2 separate regions of the Homo sapiens genome follow, and region 1 is linked to region 2. The links are contacts of gene promoters, found by promoter capture Hi-C in blood cells and fetal thymus (Javierre and others, 2016). All regions are on one chromosome and are shown on one strand. Each heading gives the region's core, a stretch centred on a gene start or on the middle of the fragment in contact. The rest is flanking DNA. Distances are from core to core; before and after follow the strand shown.

Region 1 (4,061 bases), core at 1,520-4,019, 610 kb before region 2:
GCATGCCAGGGAAGGGAGTGTCTGGGCCACCCGTTTGCAGGGAAAGGGGGCTGTAATCTGGAGGGGCACTTCTTCCCCATAAAAGAGCCAGTTTCGCCGGGTGCAGTGGCTCACGCCTGTAATCCCAGCACTTTAGGAGGCCAAGGCGGATGGATCACGAGGTCAGGAATTCAAGACCAGCCTGACCAAGATGGTGAAACCCTGTCTCTACTAAAACTACAAAAATTAGCCAGGCGCAGTGGCAGGCGCCTATAATCCCAGCTACTCGGGAGGCTGAGGCAGGAGAATCACTTGAACCCAGGTGGCAGAGGTTGCAGTGAGCCAAGATCACGCCGCTGCATTCCAGCCTCGGCAACAGAGTGAGACTCCATCTCAAACAAACAAACAAACAAAAACAAAAACAAAAAACTAGTCTTACACACTAGGGAGGGATGGAAGCACCCCTCTCTGTGAAGTCAGCAGTGACTTCTAACACCCCCTTCCTTTCTTGGTGCAGCTGCATCAGATCTGTTGCTGCACTCAGCACTGGTGCAGGAGACCGCCTACATCGAAGACCGGCCCCTGCATATGTTGTACTGTGCTGCGGAAGAGAACTGCCTGGCCAGCTCAGCCCGCTCAGCCAACTGGCCCTATGGTCACCGGCGTCTGCTCCGATTCTCCTCCCAGATCCACAACCTGGGACGAGCTGACTTCAGGCCCAAGGCTGGGCGCCACTCCTGGGTGTGGCACGAGTGCCATGGGTGAGAGGGTAGGGAGTCAAGTAGAAGGGCAAGACCACGGGGGATGGGGCAAACCTTCTGGGGGCAGAGAAGGAAACAGAAGTTCCCTTCTCCCCACAGGCATTACCACAGCATGGACATCTTCACTCACTATGATATCCTCACCCCAAATGGCACCAAGGTGGCTGAGGGCCACAAAGCTAGTTTCTGTCTCGAAGACACTGAGTGTCAGGAGGGTGAGTTGGGGACTGAAGTGAACCACATGGTATCCATTGCACAGCCTTTCCTTACACTGACATATGCCAATCCCTCCAGATGTCTCCAAGCGGTATGAGTGTGCCAACTTTGGAGAGCAAGGCATCACTGTGGGTTGCTGGGATCTCTACCGGCATGACATTGACTGTCAGTGGATTGACATCACGGATGTGAAGCCAGGAAACTACATTCTCCAGGTACCTGGAGTCTGGGGCTTCCAGATGGGTGAGTGGGGGGAGCGTTAAAGACACCTTTGAATTCGAGGATTGTCGCTGGGTTAAGTGGCCTTTTTCTCACTCACAGGTTGTCATCAACCCAAACTTTGAAGTAGCAGAGAGTGACTTTACCAACAATGCAATGAAATGTAACTGCAAATATGATGGACATAGAATCTGGGTGCACAACTGCCACATTGGTATTTGATGGGAAGAGCAACCCAGGAAGATTAGGGGATGGGAGGGAAAGACGTTCATTCTCTTTTCCATAGCTTGTTTCTCCATCTTCCCACCTTCCTGTAGAGCTCTCAGTCCCTCCACTTCTACCCACCCTTCTCCACAGTGCATCTATCTCCCTCCCTCTGTGCAGGGCGCCTCCCAAATTGCCTGTCCACTCTGCAGGTGATGCCTTCAGTGAAGAGGCCAACAGGAGGTTTGAACGCTACCCTGGCCAGACCAGCAACCAGATTATCTAAGTGCCACTGCCCTCTGCAAACCACCACTGGCCCCTAATGGCAGGGGTCTGAGGCTGCCATTACCTCAGGAGCTTACCAAGAAACCCATGTCAGCAACCGCACTCATCAGACCATGCACTATGGATGTGGAACTGTCAAGCAGAAGTTTTCACCCTCCTTCAGAGGCCAGCTGTCAGTATCTGTAGCCAAGCATGGGAATCTTTGCTCCCAGGCCCAGCACCGAGCAGAACAGACCAGAGCCCACCACACCACAAAGAGCAGCACCTGACTAACTGCCCACAAAAGATGGCAGCAGCTCATTTTCTTTAATAGGAGGTCAGGATGGTCAGCTCCAGTATCTCCCCTAAGTTTAGGGGGATACAGCTTTACCTCTAGCCTTTTGGTGGGGGAAAAGATCCAGCCCTCCCACCTCATTTTTTACTATAATATGTTGCTAGGTATAATTTTATTTTATATAAAAAGTGTTTCTGTGATTCTTCAGAGCCCAGGAGTCAGTGCTGGTGGTTGGAGGGACCTGCCCCCACTGGTTCATTTAACCCTCTGTCTCGGTGCCCTCAGAACCTCAGCCAGAAAGGCAAGGAGGAAATCAGAGCAGGAGCCTCATACTCTTGGTGATCTATTCATTCTGTGACCTCAGGGGTCACATATAAGGTCAGTGTTTCTCGTCCCCGCCGGATCTGCACTGCCAACTGGGATTGGGTTCGAACAGCTTCATAAACATCTTCAGCATTTTGTACCATCTGCTCCCCAATGGCCAAAATCACATCACCAGGCCGCAGACCAGCCCTATAGAGAAAAATGGACAGAGAGAAAGGAAGGAGTACAAAGCCTAGTTCAAGGACACATGCACACCTTGCCCATCCCCATATCACACTGCAGCCTCTCCCTCACCGGTGTGCAGGGGAGCCCAGGATGACTTTATGGATGAGTACACCATGCTGAACATCGGGAAAGCTTGGTTCTCGAAGCTGTAGTTCAGCAAGGATGCTGAAAGTACACAGATCACCCTATTAGCCAAACCCAGGCATTCTCCCCATCCTGAGTTCCACCTCAAGTCTCTCATCAACACATTGATAAATATATGGACAGGACATGGGCTAGGTACTACAAAATACAATGGCAACTCACTTTCTGTCTTCTAGCAATAAAGTGCAACATGTACATAAAAGATGTACACCACATGAGGGCACCAAATGACAAACAGTGTTAAATCAATAGCACTAATGTCATTCTAGAATACTAAGAGAAGCTTTAAGGGGAAAGAACTTAAGTTGAGCCTAAAAGGATGGATCTGATATTAACCATATAAAACAAGAACAGCATAAATAAAAAACATGGGAGTAGGAAATCAGGTTGGCTGAGTATTCATATAGGAAGGTATTACAGCCAGGTCTAGAAAGTTGATTTACAGACAGATGGAAAATGGCCCTTAAATGCCAAGTTAATGGATTGAAGGCTTGAAATCAAAGCAGTAACAGGATGAAATCAATCTGGTGACAGGTGTACAAAGTGGAGTGGGATAAGAAAGTCAAGATGATGAAGGGAGACAGCTCTTGTGATTATTTCAAGTGTGACACAGTTCATCTTAGATAAAGACAGAAATGAGAACAAAGCTCAATAGAGGTGCCCCCCTCTGATTACACTGGTCACATTACATGTCACTGTCCCTAAAGCTCATACCTGGGACTCAGGGTCAGCATCATCACCCCAATGTAGCGCCGCTGGGACCCACTGATTCCGGAGGAGGAATCTGTGACAGAGGGACAAATGAGCCCCACCCAGCTACATCCTTCCTTCCCTGCCCTCTTCTCCCAGTAGACCACCCTCCAGGAAGTCCCACTGAATGCCCTTCCCCTATTTCCACCACATTAAAGGAACCCGTTTCCCCATAAGGCAGGCTCACTCTTCTTTTCCCCACGATGCAGAAACTCTCGAAGACGATCAGAAGGGATGGCAAAGGAGATTCCAGCTGTGACCTTCATGGTGTTCACTCCAATCACCTCCCCATCCTGCAGGGATACAGCCCCCAGTTCCCTAGCCTAAACAAATAGTAGGGGATGGGGGCACCCGAACAAAAGTACCAGCAAGTGTTGGGGAGATCTGGTTGGATATTGAGAGATAGCCAACAAAGAACTGCTCAGAAACTTGACCAAACATCCTTGAATTAGGGGAAACCTACCCTTCCCACACTGACCTGGGGCAGGGATTCTTGGAAGGAAGGATGTCTCACTCACCAGGTTAACCAGGGGACCTCCAGAGTTTCCAAACTGTAGGACAAGGAGAAAACATGAAAGAGATCTGGGGATTCTAAGTCTGGGGGCATACCAGGATGTAGGTACTTTCTCCAAATTCTCTTCTTTCTCAGCCCATGAATAAGTGGCCACATTTTTGCAGCC
Region 2 (3,904 bases), core at 20-2,519:
TCTCAAATAAAATAAAATAAAAACTTCCCTCAATTCTTCATCCCTAATTTTTCTCCATCATACTTATTACTCTCTAACATATTGTTCACCTTGCTTAATTTATGTTGTTTATTGTCCATCTCTCCCTACTTGAGTTCCATGAGAGCAGAGATTTTTATTTGTTCTATTCACAGCTGTATTCTCCAGGCCAAGAACAGTGCTGGCATATGGAAGTGGCTCAAAAGGTGATTTGTTGAATGAATAAAAAAAGAAATTCTCAGTTTGCTGCTACGTCTTCAGTACTCAACACTTGCTAAGCCCCTTTTAGGGGCTCAGTGACTTGGTAGATAAAAGTATCAAGTCAGAATTTATTAATATTAAATCGAAATGCTTTGCCTTCATTTTGCTTTCTGACTACTTTTTATTCAAGATACTGGATCTCACTCTTTTAACAAAATAATTTTTAATTTAATACATGTTTTTAAGTTTAAAAAGTGAGGTTCTTCTAAGAAAAGCCTTAAGAAATTATTATGCAACTAGCACAGGCACAGGGCAAAAATTGTGAATGTGGTATTTGAACGACTGAAATTTAGGAACTCTCTTCGAATAGGGTTGCCAGATAAAATACAGGACACAGTTAAATTTGAACTTTCAATGAGTGATTTCGTTGTTGTTTTGCTGTAAGGATGTCCCAAATATTGCATTGGACACACACTAAAAATTATTCGTTATCTTAAATTCTATTTTAACTGGATATTATTTTTAATTTCTGCTAAATATGGCAACCCTATCTAGGAGAACAAATAAACTGCACCCGCTTGTCGCTTCAATTTCGATCTATTACAAACAGCTAATACAATTCTTGTCCTATCCACTAACTGCGTGGCTTTTATGCCCCAACAAATATGTTCCTGTGGGCGGGTACTGAGGCCCGATATCCTAAAAACAAGGAGGCAAAGATACACAGTGCACTTTGCGAGGGGAAAGGCTCTCCTCGCAGCCCAGAAAAAGAGGCCGGCCGCATCAGACGCAGGCCATTCCGGGCCCAGCTCCTTTCCCAGCCTCTGTCGCCTGCGTGGCGGAGGCCAAGGCTTGGCAGCCGCTTTCCGGCCCTTACCAATGTTGCCTTCGATGGAGAGCCTTCGGGGCCCGCGCCCCGCGTGCAGGCCTCTGGAGGAGGAAACGCCCTCGAGTGGGCTCTTGGCCATGGAACTGAAGGGTGCTCGAAGCCGACTTAGAAAGAGGCGGCCCGCGGCCATCCCACCCACGATTCACACAGCGATCACTTCCGCCGAGAGCACTTCCGCCCTAGGTATCGCTGCTCACTCGCTCCAGCGCACCGTTGACGTAAGGAGATCGTCAGACAGGAAGTGGGTGGGGTTGAACATGCGGCGGGGTGCGCCCAAGAGACCGCTCCGCTATCGCGATGTTTGTAAAGAAGCGTTGAGTGAAGGAAGTTTTGCAACGGTGCAGAATTTGATAGTAAAAGGAGTTGCGGTGCGAGTGGTTTTTGTTCATTGGACAAATAACATTTTAAAAGACGTAATTCCACAATCCAACCACTTCATTTTTGTATAACTTTAAAATAAATTTTATAACTGAAGACAAAATTAAAAATAGAAATTGTAATTTTAAGAGGGGATTTCCCCCCCCCCAGGTGCTTGTTGTCTGGTTTTTATTTTAATATCGGAAGAAAATGGAAGTTTTAAAGTAGGAAAATGACTCAATCTGATGATTTACACAAATTTAACTTTTTCCTATTCCCTGTAATTCCCCTGCACAATGCTGGCATATTATTGACTAAATTAACAAATTAGATAATCAGTTACACCCCATCTCTTAGTTTGTGTCTTGAATAAGTAAATAAATGTTCGGTCAATCGATTTGCATTATACCCAAAAATCCCTTCAGGATAAGGTGGTGGTGGCTCAGGTATGTGACTGGAAATTGTTTAAACCTGGTAGGCTGGGTTCTTGGACGTAAGCAATGGCGAGTAGAGACTTGTATAAAACCTGAGTCCTGCTGTCGGTGAAGTGTGCTCTGCAGGAGGGCAGGGACCTAAGCTGCTGCCACAGGTGAAGCCGGACTGCCACACCCCGTCGTCATAACAACCTCAGAAGTAATGATTTACAAAATGTTGTCAAATGGTGCTTCCAGTTCCAATCGCTTAAATCACCAACAGTCAAAACCAGGAGTCAACAGGCCAAACCGGCCTTCAGGCAGCGCTCTTAGGTGTGGCAGGTTTTAGAAGACAAGGATCTGATTGCAAGGGGGCTGGGGAGGGGCCGGGGGCTGGGATACCTGTCTTGAAGCTGTTCCCATAAAAAGCACGGGACCTTTTTCTTATGTTGATGTATATATAGGATGGCTGAGGTCATGTTTATATATTAAGAACTTTTTTTTTAATCGAATTTTTTAAGGATAACCAGGGTGGGGCGTTAATGGCTACTGGAGCGGCTAAAGTCCTACCCATTCCCATCTCCACTCCAGCAGCCACTTCTGTTAAAACAAAACAAAACAAAACAAAACAAAACAAAAAACAAAAAAAAAACTGCTTACATTTCTTTACCTATGTAAACTCAGACTTGGAAAATATTCATCCAAAAAAGCTTGAGAGGCTCTCTGCCTCGCCAGGATCTTGCTGCCTCAGGGGTGTTGTGAAAGTTAAATGAGGAAGTTGTCTGCAGGCAGGCATTAATCTCCTAAAAGCTACGAGGCAGGAAAATAGGGTCTGGAGACAGGGAACCTAAGGCCGATTTAGGCTGACTTCCTAGAACTAAATCAAAAGGAAAACCCCAACTTTCTAGCCCAAGTAACAAAAGGACCAGAAGCTAATCCCTCTTCTGGGTGGCAGATAAAAAATTGAAAGTACCTCTGACTGGTCCCCGCGGGCAATCAGTCAGGCTGGTGGCAGGCCAAGTCTTTAGTTGCATGGGGTATAACTTCATAACTTTACTTCAGCCTCTGATTGGTCCCCTCCTGCAACCAATCAGACTGATCGCTGGCCACTACTTCATTTACATAGGGTGTACACCAGGTAACCAATGGGAAACCTCTAGAAGGTATTTAAACCCCAGAAAATTCTGTAATTGCTGCTTGCTTGGGCCCTTCCTACCGCAAGGAGTGTTCTTTGATGTACAATAAATCTGTGCTTTTGTTGCTTCATTGTTTCCTTGCTTTGTACGTTTTGTCCAATTCTTTGTTCAAAATGTCAAGAACCTGGGCACCCTCCACCAGTAACAGAGCTCCTAAAAATTATTTTTAAAAATTTTATGGTGAAGTGGCCTGGCGCGGTGGCTCACGCCTGTAATCCCAGCACTTTGGGAGGCTGACGAGGGCGGATCACGAGGTCAGGAGATCAAGACCATCCTGGCTAACATGGTGAAACCCTGTCTCTACTAAAGAGAGAGAAAAAAAAAAAAGCGGAGTGTGGTGGTGGGCTCCTGTAGTCCCAGCTACTCAGGAGGCTGAGGCAGGAGAATGGCCTGAACCGGGGAGGCGGAGCTTGCAGTGAGCCGAGATCGCGCCACTGTGCTCCAGCCTGGGCGACAGAGCGAGACTCCGTCTCAAAAAAAAAAAAAAAAAAAAATTATGGTAAAGCATAGTATGTAGTGAGGAAAAGAGGATGTGTTGTGCAGTGAGGAAAAGAGGATGTGTTGTAAGTGTACAGTTCAATGAAGTTTTCACAAATGGAATGACTGTTACCTGGATTCAGATCAAGAAACAGCATTATCCGCATCTCCAGAATCCCCCATATTCGTTGCCAGTTACTATCCCTCAAAGATAACCATTAGCCTGACTTCAACAGTAGAGATTAGTTTTGCGTTTTCTTTATATAAATGGAATTATATAGTAAATACTTCTTTTATTTAACATATCTGTGAGATTCATCCAGGTTGAATGTATTAGTTGTAGTTCACTCATT

The links. The method cuts DNA at HindIII sites, captures the fragments that hold promoters and counts their contacts. A CHiCAGO score of 5 or more calls a contact.
Region 1: a contact is called between a fragment that was not itself captured here and the fragment with the promoter of DGUOK in region 2, in 1 of 17 cell types (total CD4 T cells). The highest score is 5.4, in total CD4 T cells.

The regions. Positions count from the first base shown.
Region 1 is chr2:74,531,210-74,535,270 of GRCh38, reverse strand. It overlaps HTRA2 (HtrA serine peptidase 2), which reads right to left. Exons shown (of 8, transcript NM_013247.5): 4 at 3,900-3,932; 5 at 3,569-3,674; 6 at 3,346-3,415; 7 at 2,557-2,652; 8 at 1,952-2,451. The coding sequence ends at 2,286. LOXL3 (lysyl oxidase like 3) reads left to right here. Exons shown (of 14, transcript NM_032603.5): 10 at 497-740; 11 at 840-955; 12 at 1,035-1,171; 13 at 1,278-1,389; 14 at 1,592-3,013. The coding sequence ends at 1,665. Among named protein-coding and RNA genes, the nearest start is that of HTRA2, 3.3 kb to the right of the region's middle. The HindIII fragment of the contact is 295 bases long and covers 2,622-2,916 here.
Region 2 is chr2:73,924,245-73,928,148 of GRCh38, reverse strand. It overlaps DGUOK (deoxyguanosine kinase), which reads right to left and starts at 1,269. Exons shown (of 7, transcript NM_080916.3): 1 at 1,097-1,269. The coding sequence starts at 1,238. RefSeq lists an enhancer at 968-1,237. The HindIII fragment of the contact is 7,290 bases long and covers 1-2,590 here.